Regions from separate parts of the Homo sapiens genome. Here regions 2 and 3 are each linked to region 1. The links are contacts of gene promoters, found by promoter capture Hi-C in blood cells and fetal thymus (Javierre and others, 2016). All regions are on one chromosome and are shown on one strand. The core of a region is centred on a gene start or on the middle of the fragment in contact, and the rest is flanking DNA. Distances in the headings are between cores, read along the strand shown. Region 1 holds the start of LENG8-AS1 (LENG8 antisense RNA 1). Region 2 overlaps VSIG10L (V-set and immunoglobulin domain containing 10 like). Region 3 overlaps ETFB (electron transfer flavoprotein subunit beta).

Region 1 (4,184 bases), core at 958-3,457:
AGCAATCCCCTAGTGACTTCTTAGAGCACATCATCAGACAGTTGGGGTAAAATTCTGAAGTGGATTAAGGGAGGGGTGCTGGTTTGCCTGGATGGCTACATGAACATAGCCCTGGAACCAACCAAATATGTAACTGGACAACAGAAAAATAAGTACAGGGTGCATTAATCAGAGGCAACAATGTTTTGTACTTAAGTACACAGAAGACACGATGTGAAGACACCAAGAGAACAGTACTTTTCATGGTTAGACACATTTCTTAGGTATTTTTTCTACTTTGGGATTCTTTTGTGATATAATTTGTCCTGTTTACATAATTTTTTTCCCTGACATGTAAGATAAATGTATCTAATTGTGGGCTTACTTGTAAAGAGTTTTCACATTTAAGTTCCAGTCATTTCATTTTATCGCTGTATCTGTGTACAGAATGCTAAAGAATAAGACATAAAAAATAAAAGTACAGTTATAAACACCTCTTTTAAAAGGCAGAGACTGTTCGCTTGGGCAAAAAAAAGCAAGATCCAACTACATGCTATCTACAAGAAACCCACCCTAAATACAACAGGTAAAAGGAAGCTAAATGGAACGTGGGTCCTGGCTTGTACCCTGGCATGTAAAGAAAACATTGGAGGAAAAGGTGGTGAAATCCCAGTAAAGTCTGGGTTTTAGTTACAGTAATGCATCATGTCAGTATCTACAACAAACCACTTTTGTTGGTGCTTGTGATGACAGCATCAGAAGAAAGTGGGCATAAAACATGGTGGACTGCTTATGATCTTTGCAACTTTTCTTTTTTTTTTTTTTGAGACAAGAATTTCACTCTTGTTGCCCAGGCTGGAGTGCAATGGTGTAACCTCGGCTCACTGCAACCTTGGCCTCCTGGGTTCAAGCGATTCTCCTGCCTCAGCCTCCCGAGTAGCCGGGATTACAGGTGCACGCGCCACCACGCCCAGCTAATTTCTGTATTTTTAGTAGAGACGGGACTTCACCATGTTGGCCAGGCTGATCTTGAACTCCTGACCCCAGGTGATCCACCCATCTCGGCCTCCCAAAGTGTTGGGATTACAGGCGTGAGCCAGCGCGCCCGGTCTTTGCAACGTTTTGAATAAATCCAAAATTATTCCAGAACAAAAAGCTTAGTACCAAAAAGAAAACAAAAACAAAAACAAAACAAACCCCCCCCCCCCCACAGAGTAAAATAACGGAAAAAGATCTACTATGCTAGCACTAACAAAATAATACGTAGTTATGAAAATGGTATGTATTTTTCAAGCTAGACGTTCATAATGGTAGAACATGAGGAGGAAAACTGCCTCTTAAATCCCACCACTTACTGTGACACAGTGACCGGTCCCTGCAGCGGACTGGATAGTTGTATCAGAGTCCTGGACGGAAACAGATGGCACTCAAAAGGTGGCGCGCAGTTCAGAGAAATGCCTATGTACGGATTTGGTCCAATGCCTCAGCCTGACCTCAGGGACCTTCGGGGGTCTGCTCCGCGCCCACCCTTACACATCTGTGACCCCACACACTTCCACCCCAGCGCCACTGCCAACAGCTACACCCATCCCCCTCCAACCGCGTCAGCTTCCAGCCTCGGTCCATCTGAACTCGCCGTGCCCCCTCCCCTGCGCCCTTCCAGATTCATTTGCTAGGGAAGCCCGCTCTTCCGGGTGGAGCTGTTCCTCATCCCCTTTCTTTATCATTCTCTCCCCAGGGCTTCCACATCACCGTGCTGTGGACAATCCCGGAACTCCTGTCACGCCAGTTTACATTTAGGAACAGTAATGGCTCCCACTGACTCAGTCAAAACAAGGCTGCGGCCGGGCACGGTGGCTCACGCCCGTAATCCCAGCACTTTGGGAAGCCGAGACGGAGGGATCACGAGGTCAGGAGTTCGAGAACAGCCTGGCCGACATGGTGAAACCCCGTCTTTACTAAAAACACAAAAATTAGCCGGGCATAGTGGCGCGCGCCTGTAATCCCAGCTACTCCGGAGGCTGAGGCAGAATTGTTTGAACCCAGGAGGCGGAGGTTGCAGTGAGCAGAGATCACGCCACTGTACTCTATCGTGGGCGACGACAGAGCAAGAGCAAGACTCCGTCTCCGAGAACAACAACAACAGCAACAAGAAAACAACAATAAAAAAAATAAGGCTGCGTGGGAGGCAGAAAGAGCTAATGCGGCCACGCTTGTCTCCTCGGGGCCACCGTCCCCACCCAGACTTCCGGTCTGCCTTAAAATGTTCATGCGTAAGTGCGTGGGCAGGAAGGCGGGCTCAAGCGCAGCTCGTGGCGTTCATTGGCTGTGCAGGGCCGAGGGAGGCGGTGCAAGGCCGCCGCGTGACGTCAGGACGCCGCGGTCAGGACGTCGAAGCCAAAGAAGACCAGAGCCAGCCGGGTGGCACAGCGGTGTCGTGGCCGTGTTGCTGATCGCCTGGGTGGTTGTTGGCGTGTCCCTGCAGCGAAGGATCCTGGTTGGTAAGGGGAGCGGCAGGCGAGCAGGCGGGCGGGGATAGCATCTCCTTTTGGTCTTGCGCCCCGCGAGCCCCGAGGCCTTCTCGGCCGTCGCAGCAGCAGACGCCGCGCGCGAGCGTCGACAGGGTGTGGCGGCGCAGGGGCAGCCACTGCGCCTGCGCACCGGGCCTGGGGCCGCGCGTTCGGGCACTAGCGCGCGTGCGCCGTCGTCTTCTAATTTCCGTTCCTCTCCCTTGGAGTTCTCGGGGCCCCGGGGCGCCCCTCACTCGCCGTTGACCGGGTGTTGCCCCGGGCGACGGGCGGCTCCTGCGCGTCTTTCTGGGGCGTGGTGCGCAGGCGCGGCCTGGGCAGTGGCTCCGTGGCTAGTCGTGGGGATCCGAGCGGCCTCCTCCACCCGGCGTCCTCCTTTGCCTTCGCCCAGCCTGCGGGACGGCCAGGTGCTCCCGGGACCTCAGGCCTCGCGTCTGATGCCTGTCTCTGTTCTTGAGACCCGTCCGGGAGTCCTCTGTCCAGCCCCCAACTCCTGACCTTACCTCTAATCTCCCTTCTGCCCTGGGGCTCCTCTTCCTGTGTCCCCGCCACGATCCCTCGTCTCCACCCACGCCCTGTGTCCTGTTTAAGTTAAGCCTTTGCGTTTCTAGGGCTTTTCCCCAGCTCCAGACTCCCGTTCCTATCCCGTCAACTCGTGGGAATTCCGGTTCTCCTGCGGGATTAATTATCCTACTTATCAGTTACTCCCTCTCGGGAGTTTAGGCTCCTGAATCCTTGCTCCGGAGACACTCCACTTTTCTTCCAATTCTCTCTGTACCCCACTCTTAATTCGTTGAACATGTTTTGGGTCTTCTTTGGCATTCCCAAAGCTTTATGTCCAGACACCCAACCACGGTGATCCCTTTTCTCTCCCAGCCCTACCCCTGCTTCCGGGAACCTCCCGTGGAAGCAGGCAGGGGTAGTCCCACTGAGGACTCCCACGTAGGTCTCTTTACTGCCCTTCGGAGACCTTTTTGAAATCAGTCTGTCAGTGCTAAGAACCCATTTCTTCACGTTGGGGTTCACGTTGGCATTCTCAGGAACGCTCAACGACCACTTGCTTCCAGGGTTAACTTCCGGAAAATCCCCTTTTCCTCTCAAAATTTTCTTCTCTTCTCCAATATTCTTCCAGCCCCCTCGATGCTCCCTGAAAGGCCTCCCTTTTCACAGAGTTCTCGGAAACCTTTCCACCCTCTCAGCCTTAAGGGTTCCCTCAGACTCTTCTCATTATAGCATCCATCCTCTTGGTTCAGGTTCCTTTCACAACCCGTACTCCCTAGCTTTTTTTTTTTTTTTTTTTTTGAGACAGAGTTTCGCTCTTGTTGCCCAGGCTGGAGAGCAATGGCGCAGTCTCAGCTTACCGCCCTCCGCCTCCCGTGTTCAAGCGATTCTCCTGCCTCGGCCTCCCTAGTAGCTGGGATTACAGGCATATGCCACCATGCCCAGCTAATTTGGTATTTTTAGTAGAGACGTGGTTACTCCATGTTGGTTAGGCTGGTCTCGAACTCCCGACCTCAGGTGACCTGCCCGCCTTGGCCTCTCAAAGTGCTGGGATTACAGGCGTGAGCCACCGCGCCTGGCCCCTAGAATTTTTTGTAGACCTTTTCCCCTTGATGGAGGCACCCCTACCCTCTGGACCTTTCATCACAGCCTCTCTTTGCTCACATGGGTTTCAGA
Region 2 (4,184 bases), core at 891-3,390, 3.1 Mb before region 1:
CTTTATTTTGGAATAAGGTCTTTGAAGATGTAACCAAGTCAATTTGAGGTATTAGGGTGGACCCTAATCCAATATAACTGGTGTCCTTAAAAGAAGAGGACAGAAGCCAGGTGCGGTGGCTCACACCTGTAATCCCAGCACTTTGGGAGGCCAAGGTGTGTGGGTCACCTGAGGTCAGGAGTTCAAGACCAGCCTGGCCAACATGGTGAAATCCCATCTCTACTAATACAAAAATTAGCTGGGTGTGGTGGCGCATGACTGTAATCCTAGCTACTCGGGAGGCTGAGGCAGGAGAATCACTTGAATCTGGGAGGTAGAAGTTGCGGTGAGCCGAGATCATGCCATTGCACTCCAGCCTGGGCGACAAGAGCAAAACTCCTTCTCAAAAAAGAAGAAGGAGAAGGAGAAGAAGAAGAAGAAGAGACACACACACAGGGAAGAAGCCTGTGGGAAGCTGGAGGCAGAGGTTGGAGTGATGCAGCTGCAAGTCCAGGAACGCCAAGGATGAAACAGCCGCCACCAGGAGCTAGGAAGACACAAAGGAGGATTCTACACAGGGTCTCAGAGGGAGTAGGACCCTGTCGACACCTTGATTTTTTTTTTTTTTTTTTTTTTGAGACGGAGTCTGGCTCTTTCACCCAGGCTGCAGTGCAGTGGCTGATCTCGGCTCACTGCAAGCTCCGCCTCCCGGGTTCGCGCCATTCTCCTGCCTCAGCCTCCCCAGTAGCTGGGACTACAGGCGCCCGCCACCGCGCCAGGCTAATTTTTTGTATTTTTAGTAGAGACGGGGTTTCACCGTGTGAGCCAGGATGGTCTCGATCTCCTGACCTCGTGATCCACCCGCCTTGGCCTCCCAAAGTGCTGGGATTACAGGCGTGAGCCACCGCGCCCAGCCGACACCTTGATTTTAGACTTCTGACCTCCAGACCTGTGAGAGAAGAAATTCCTGTAGTCTCAAGCCATGCAGTTCATGGTACTTTGTTAGGGCAGGCCCCAGGACACTAAAACAGGGAGACACGGAGGATCTGGCACAACAGAGAAGGTCTACTCTGACAGCCCCAACTCACCGGCCCGGTAGACCCGGCTTTGTGATGGAGTCCCTGGCTGGCCCCCCAGGATGGGCAGGATCCGAAAGGTCCAGGTCCCTGGGTTCCGAGGTGGAAGGGGCACCACGGCTGACCGCTCCTGAGGCCCCAGGATGAGCAGGGAGACCCAGTCCCTGTAGGTGGAAGTCCTGCCCAGAGCAGGCCCATCTGGCCATGCCTGGATCTCAAAACTGCTGATCAGGGCCCCGCGCTCCACATCCCAAGTCAGCACGGCTGCATCTCTGGCTCTCTGAAGCCTCCACGAGGATATGGAGGGTCCTAGAGGGATGTGGGGGTGGCTGGATTCTTGGGTGCCAGAGGGGAGAGGGAAGGGGGCTGGGGGGCTGGGCTCCTGGGTCTGAGGGGGAGGGGGCTGGGGGCCTGGACTCTTGGGTCTGAGGGAGGAGGGGGTGGGGGCCTGGACTCCTGGATCTGAGGGTGGAAGGGGCTGGTGACCTGGACTCCTGGGTCTGAGGGAAGAGGGGCTGGGGCTAGACCCTTGGGTCTGAGGGAGGAGGGGCTGAGGCCTGGACTCCAGGGTCTGAGGGAGGAGAGGCTGGGGGCCTGGATCCGAGGTCTGAGGGAGGAGAGGTCTGGGGCCTGAACTTCTGGGTCTGAGGGCTGGAGCGGCTGGGGACGTGGACTTCAGGGTTTTTTGAAATAACGTGGCTCACCAATGAGGGTGATCTGGTCACCGCCAGCACCCAGCGCCCCACTGCACAGCACGGAGTAATTTCCCAGGTCCCAATCCAGGCTGAAGTTGCCGATGTGGAGTTTCCGCCCATCTTGACTGAGCCGCAGGCGACTCCCGCCTCCTGGAGCCAGGGGCCTCCCTTCCCGGGCCCAGGATGCCCGTGAGGGTGGGGGACAACCAGAGGCCTCCAGTGCCACCTCTGCCTCCCCCAACCGTGTCTCTGCCACCAGCGGATGCAGCAGCACCTCTCGGGGGGCCTCTGCCGGTGGGAGAAGTCCAGTTAAGAAAGTCAAGACCTTACCTTGGATTCAAAGAACAGATCCTATGCCCTACTTTAAATCAGATGGTGGTAAGCCCCCACGCTTTGGCCACCTGAGAAAGAACTGCCAATTTACTCACTCATTAGCTCATTCATTCATTCATTCATTTATTATCTGATTTCCTCATCAAACACTTATTGAACACATACCATAGGCGCAGGCCCTGTACTGGGAAACTCATATTATTTTCAGCTATTCTTTCTTCTTTATTATTATTATTATTTTGTAGCAATAATAATTACAAGACTGGGTCTTGCCACACTGCCCAGGCTGGTCTTGAACTCCTAGACTCAAGCAATCCTCCCGCCCCCAGCTACCAAAGTGCTGCGATTATTGCGCCCGGCCTTGTTACTTTTTAAAATATCACTGCTTTATCTCTCTGAACACGTGTGAAAGTGATGGCCTTCTTCCTGTGTCCAGAAAAATACCCCCATCCCTGCACCCCGCCACCATGAGGTATAGGAAAATCTTTGTCCCTTTTCTAGTTTGAAGACAGTGAAGTCCTGCCTCTTTCTTGGACTAAGGACGTACCCCATACCCCTTCAGAATTTTCGAAGGACCAAAGAAAAAGTCTCCCTCCTCCTCGAGAAACAGCAAAAAAGCCCCGCGCCCTCTCACCCGGCGTGACTGTGCAGGTACGCGTGGCCACCAGGTGGCGAGCAAGGCAGGTGATGGGGACGCCGCTGAGCCGGGGGTGGGCGGGGACGGCCGCCAGCAGCACAGAGGACACTGGCCCGGCGCGGATGCCTTCGGGGAGACCCTGGAACTGCAGGGAGGCAGCAGGGGCCCCGCCGGGCCACGAGCAGCGGAAGCGGAGGCTGCGGTCCCCGGGACCCCCTTCAACTGAGCACTGTGGGGCCCCGGGGGGCAGGTCTGCGGAGAGAAGGGAGAGAATGAAGATGGAGTCCCTTTCTCATTTCTTCTCCAGCCCCGCCTCCCCGCGCGGTGACTCCACCCTTCTTCACTAGCCCCACCCCATAGGCGCTCACACTCCCCACTTTTCCTGCGATCCCGTTCCCTTTTCCCATTAACTTCCTCGCTAAGTGGGTAGCCCGCAGCCCTGCTGACTGCCCAACTTTCTTAAGAAAACTGCATCTTCACACAATGATATTTCTCTTCCCAAACGTAACTCAGCCCCTTCCTTTCCAGCTCCACCCACTTCTGCCAGGTTACTTCGCCCCCTCCTGGATTGCACTCCGAGAAGCCTCCCCTTTTCCCAGATATCTCCGCCCTTCCTTGTGGACCCCTTCCCCTTTCTAAGACAATTCTGCCCGCTTTCTAAATGACCTCGCCCCTTTCCCTGGTGACTCCGCCCCCCTTGCCAGGTAACTTCTCCCTTTGCTGATCCCACTTAAGCAAATTAGTTCTTTCCTTTTCTAACTCCCACTCTTTGCCATTTAACTCCGCTTGTCGACTTTGTCGAGTGTTCCATGCCCAGGAATGTCCGCCCTCTCAGTGCTGGGCCGGCCCGTCAGTCCTGGTCATCCCTGCCACTCTATTTGGCTCCTTCCCTTATCCTCTTTCTGGCCCCGCCTCTTATCCTAGGTGTCTCCGCCCCTCCGCGCTGGCCCGCCCCACCACGGGTATCCCAGCTCCTTCTTGGTGACCCGCCCTCCCGCTGGCCCTGCCCCACCCACCGGTATGCTGCTCCTCCTTGCTGGCCCCGCCCCTTTCCTCTAGCCCCGCCCTCGTTCTGGCCCCGCCCCTCTCCCAGGCATTCCCCTACTCCCGCTCCAGCCTCTCACCCGCCACTGTAAGGTTGAGCAGCGAGCGGCGGCGGCGGCCGGTACGCGGGTTCGCCGCCAGGCAGGCGTAGGTGCCTGCGTGGCCCGGTCCGACCGCGGGCAGCAGGAGGCGCGACCCCGCGGGCACCGCGGCCTCGGCCGGGTCCGCCAGGCTCCACGTGATGTCGGCGGGCGGCCGCGAGGCGGCGGCGCAGCGCAAGGTCACGTTACTGCCCGCGGTGACAAAGCGGGCAGGCGCGGCGTCGCGGTCCGAGGAGACCGTGATGGTCGGCGGGTCCGGGCCGTCTGGAGGGAGGAGGGGTCGGGACCGCGAGTGTCAGGGTCACCTGGGACGCCGCTA
Region 3 (4,184 bases), core at 499-2,998, 3.1 Mb before region 1:
GAGTGCAGAGGTGCCACCTTGCCTTACTGCAACCTCCACCTCCCGGGCTCAGGTGATCCTCCCACTTCAGCCTCCCCAGTAGCTGGGACCACAGGCGGGCACCATCATGCCGGGCTAATTTTTTTTTTTTTACTTTTTGTAGAGAAAGGATTTCCCCGTGTTTCCCAGGCTGGTCTGGAACTCCTGGCCTAAAGTGATCCGCCTGCTTCAGCCTACCAAAGTGATGGGATTACAGGTGTGAGTCGCAGTGCCTGGCCTTTTTTCTTAAAAAAAAAAACACAACATAGGAGTTGCCCCTTTAAGACAGAAAAGAACCTCATCCACCCATCAGTAAGAGGCCCCAAGCTTCTTGCTGTGAGTCAGGGAGGCTTCTGAAGGGCCTCAAGCCACATCTTGCTCTTGCTCTGGCAGAACTCCCAGCCCTAAGCTCCTGATTCCCAGGCTCCTGACTCCTGAGGAGAAAGGGTAAGAACTTTCCAGACACACACACACACACGCACGCACACACACCTGAGGAAACAAACTAGCTCATCTTCTCAATTAAGCTTGAGTTGATTTTAAGCTTCAAAAACAGTTTAGTTATATTACATAAGTCAGGAAACAATGGTAGGGCTGAAAAATGATAGCTTGTTTGTTTTTTAAATAATGATGGCTCATGCCTGTAATCCCAGCACCTTAGGAGACTGAGGAAGGAGGATCACTGGAGCCCAGGATTTCAAGACCAGCCTGGGCAACATAGAGAGACTTCATCTCTACCAAAAAACAAAATTAGCAGGTCATGGTGGCGTGCACCTGTAGTCCCAGCTACTGAGGAGGCTGAGGTGGGAGGACGGCTTGAACCCAGGAGGGTCGAGGCTGCAGCGAGCTGTGACTGTACCACTCTAGCCTGGGTGACAGAGCTAGACCTTGTCTCAAAAAGAAAAAAAAAAAGTTTTATAATTGAGGTAAATCATTCAGCATTAAGTGCTGGCTTTCTCTTAAAGAGACGACATATCCACCAATATCAAAAACAGCCTCAAAGCTGGGCGTGGCGGCTCACACCTGTAATCCCAGCACTTTGTGGGGCTGAGGTGGGTGGATCACTTGTGGTCAGGAGTTCGAGACCAGCCTGGCCAACATGGTAAAACCCCATCTCTACTAAAAATACAAAAATTAGTCGAGCGTTTTAGCACATGCCTGTAATTCCAGCTAGTTGGGAGGCTGAGGGAGGAGAATCACTTGAACCCGGGAGGTGGAGGTTGCAGTGAGCAGGGATCACATCAATGCACTCCAGCCTGGGTGACAGACCAGATTCTATCTCAAAAAAAAAAAAAGAAAAGAAAAAAAAAATTTTTTTAAAAGCAGCACTGACCCATGCAGACAACGAGTCAAGGGTTTTATATGCATTAACTCGTTTGACCATCCTAGTAGCCTGTGAGGTTGGTTACTGCCATTACCTCTCATTTTACAGATGAGGCAACTGAGGCACAGAGAGGCCAAGTACCTTGGCCAGGGCCACTGAGCATGGAAGTGGCAGGACCACGGGTCTAACCCCAAATCTGTCTTGGGAACTGTGAGACTCTGAAAGAGGCTACGTGTGCCCACGGTGTTAGGAGAGCCAGTCTTCCTATTTGTTGTCCACTGCAGGCAAGAGGGATTTTCTTCTCTTCTCTTTTCTTTCTCTCTTTCTCTCTCTCTCTCTCTCTCTCTTTCTCTTTCTTTTTGATACAGAGTCTTGTTCTGTTGCCCAGGCTGGGGTGCAGTAGTATGATCTTGGCTCACTGCAAACTCCACCTTCTGGGTTCAAGCGATTCTCCTGCCTCAGCCTCCCCAGTAGCTGGGACTACAGGCGCCTGCCACCACGCCTGGCTAATTTTTTGTATTTTTAGTAGAGACAAGGTCTCACCGTGTTAGCCAGGATGGTCTCAATCTCCTAACCTTGTGATCCACCCGCCTCAGCCTCCCAAAGTGCTGAGATTACACGTGTGGGCCACCGCGCCCGGCCCACGCCTGGCTAATTTTTTTATTTTTAGTAGAGATGGGGTTTCGTCATGTTGGCCAGGCTGGTCTCGAACTCCTGACCTCAGGTGATCCGCCCACCTCGGCCTCCCAAAATGCTGGAATTACAGGTGTGAGCCACCACGCCCGGCCCAAGAGGGATTTTATAAAGTGATTTTCGACAGCTCTTCCTGAACCCCTGACACAGCTCAAGGACTTGTGTGGTTCTGTCCTCTAGGCTTTTCTGTCAAGCGAGTCCCTGGGCACGTGCTAGGGCACTCAGCAAGCAGGACAGCCAAGGCCAGGGAGCCACCCCAGTGACAGATCACTAACTCGGCGGGGGGCAGACAGAGAACTCGTCCCTGAGGTGACATGTGAGCCCCACGTGTGCCCTGTCAGACAAGGTGGCCTTGCTGAGAGCAGGAGGGGCAAGTGCGTGGAGCCCAAAGAGGAAAACCTGAAGAAACACCAGGCGCTCCCAGACGAGAGGGTGTGGCTGGTCGGGGTTGGGCCCCGAGATGGAAACACGTTTTCTGGGCCTGGAGTTTCTATCCTGTGGGGTCATCTCTAAGAAAATGAATCCCAGATAATGAATACAAAATTGCCCAGCCTCTCCTGGGTTTTTTTTTTTTTTTTTTTTTTTGTGAGACGGAGTCTCCCTCTGTCACCCAGGCTGGAGTGCAGTGGCACGATCTCGGTTCACTGCAACCTCCGCCTCCCTGGTTCAAGCGATTCTTCTGCCTCAGCCCCCCGAGTAGCTGGGACTACGGGCACGCGCCGCCATGCCCAGCTAATTTTTGTATTTTTAGTAGAGACAGAGTTTCACTCTGTTGGCTAGGATGGTCTTGAACTCCTGACCTCGTGATCCACCCACCTCAGCCTCCCAAAGTGTGTGTTTACAGGCGTGAGCCACCAGGCCCAGCCTTTCTCCTGGGGTCTTGAAAGAGGCCCTGAAGGTTAAGCTTCATCAGCTTCCTGTAAAATGTGCCCCTGAACAGGACAGGGTGTTACTGAGTTGCCAAATACCTATTAAAATGTTAGATACACGCACATACCCAGAAACATACACACAGCCGGACACACATACACACACACACACACACACACACACACACACACACACACACGAATACACTCTGAGCACAGCATTTGTTATGTTTTGAATAAATGACTAACTAAACATCCATTACTACTACTCCCAATAAAAACACTTATTGCAGCTGGTCACAGTGGCTCACACCTGTAATCCCAGCACGTTGGGAGGCTGAGGCGGGTGGATTACCTGAGGTCAGGAGGTCTAGACCAGCCTGGCTAACATAGCAAAACCTCGTTTCTACTAAAAATACAAAAATTAGCCAGGCGTGGTGGCTCACACGTGTAATCCCAGCTACTCAGGAGGCTGAGGCAGAGTTGCTTGAACCTGGGAAGTGGAGGTTCCAGTGAGCTGAGATCATGCCACTGCACTCCAGCCTGGGCAACAGAGATAGACTCCGTCTCAAAAAATAAAACAAAACAAACCACTGTGTGCCAGGCACTGTTCCAAGGGCTTATTTAATTTTCATTACAACTCAATAAAGTAGATAGTACCATCATCCCCATTGTACAGAGTAGAAAAATGAGGCTTAGAGTGGTGAAGCAATTTCCTCAAGGTCACACAGCAGGAAGTGGACGCAGGCGCTGGGCTTGGAGTCTGAGGTCTGCACTATTCTAGTAGTGAACCCACTGTCTCAGGAAGCAGTGACCACATCAAACTGTCTCCCCCACACCTGGAGCTCAAATTCCAGAAGGGGCGACAGACACCAGAGCAATCAATAAGTAAACAACACTGTGGATTACAAAGTGTCCACACCAGCTTCCCTCTGGGGACAAGCTGGGCTCTCAGAGGGTGCCCCTGCTCCCACCTCCTTCATGGAGAATGTGAGTCACTCCCTCCACTCAGTTAGGTTGGCTCCTTGAACTTTCATCTCTAGCAAACATACTTTCCTCTCCCTTTCTAGTTGCTAAGTATAGGGGAAAACACAGCAAAACACAGGGACCTGGGGCCTGTGATTTTAAGGAGGCAAGCAGGGAAGTCCTCCCAGAGAAGGTGATGTTTGAAAAGGAGGTGAAAGAGGTCAGGGAGTGAGCACGTGATTCTGGGAACAGAGGTGGATCAGACATGGCCCCTCTCTGCAGGGAGCTACCAGCCTGGGGATGATGGAGTAGGG

What was found. Contacts are between HindIII fragments. The CHiCAGO score rates a contact against its expected background, and 5 or more counts as called.
Region 2: a fragment that was not itself captured here is called in contact with the fragment with the promoter of LENG8-AS1 in region 1 in 1 of 17 cell types (non-activated CD4 T cells); the score reaches 5.5 in non-activated CD4 T cells.
Region 3: a contact is called between a fragment that was not itself captured here and the fragment with the promoter of LENG8-AS1 in region 1, in 1 of 17 cell types (naive CD4 T cells). The highest score is 5.2, in naive CD4 T cells.

Annotation. Positions count from the first base shown.
Region 1 is chr19:54,446,831-54,451,014 of GRCh38, forward strand. LENG8-AS1 (LENG8 antisense RNA 1) reads right to left here and starts at 2,208. Exons shown (of 3, transcript NR_126418.1): 1 at 1,732-2,208; 2 at 1,335-1,385. LENG8 (leukocyte receptor cluster member 8) reads left to right here and starts at 2,369. Exons shown (of 16, transcript NM_052925.4): 1 at 2,369-2,480. RefSeq lists an enhancer at 2,119-3,026. The HindIII fragment of the contact is 2,202 bases long and covers 1,134-3,335 here.
Region 2 is chr19:51,336,171-51,340,354 of GRCh38, forward strand. It overlaps VSIG10L (V-set and immunoglobulin domain containing 10 like), which reads right to left. Exons shown (of 10, transcript NM_001163922.3): 4 at 3,845-4,129; 5 at 2,718-2,972; 6 at 1,760-2,038; 7 at 1,068-1,364. It overlaps VSIG10L-AS1 (VSIG10L antisense RNA 1), which reads left to right and starts at 3,850. Exons shown (of 5, transcript NR_186316.1): 1 at 3,850-4,184. RefSeq lists silencers at 2,744-3,083, 3,734-4,003. The HindIII fragment of the contact is 6,332 bases long and covers 1-4,184 here.
Region 3 is chr19:51,359,101-51,363,284 of GRCh38, forward strand. The region is part of intron 1 of ETFB (electron transfer flavoprotein subunit beta); the gene reads right to left. Among named protein-coding and RNA genes, the nearest start is that of ETFB, 5.2 kb to the right of the region's middle. The HindIII fragment of the contact is 2,377 bases long and covers 561-2,937 here.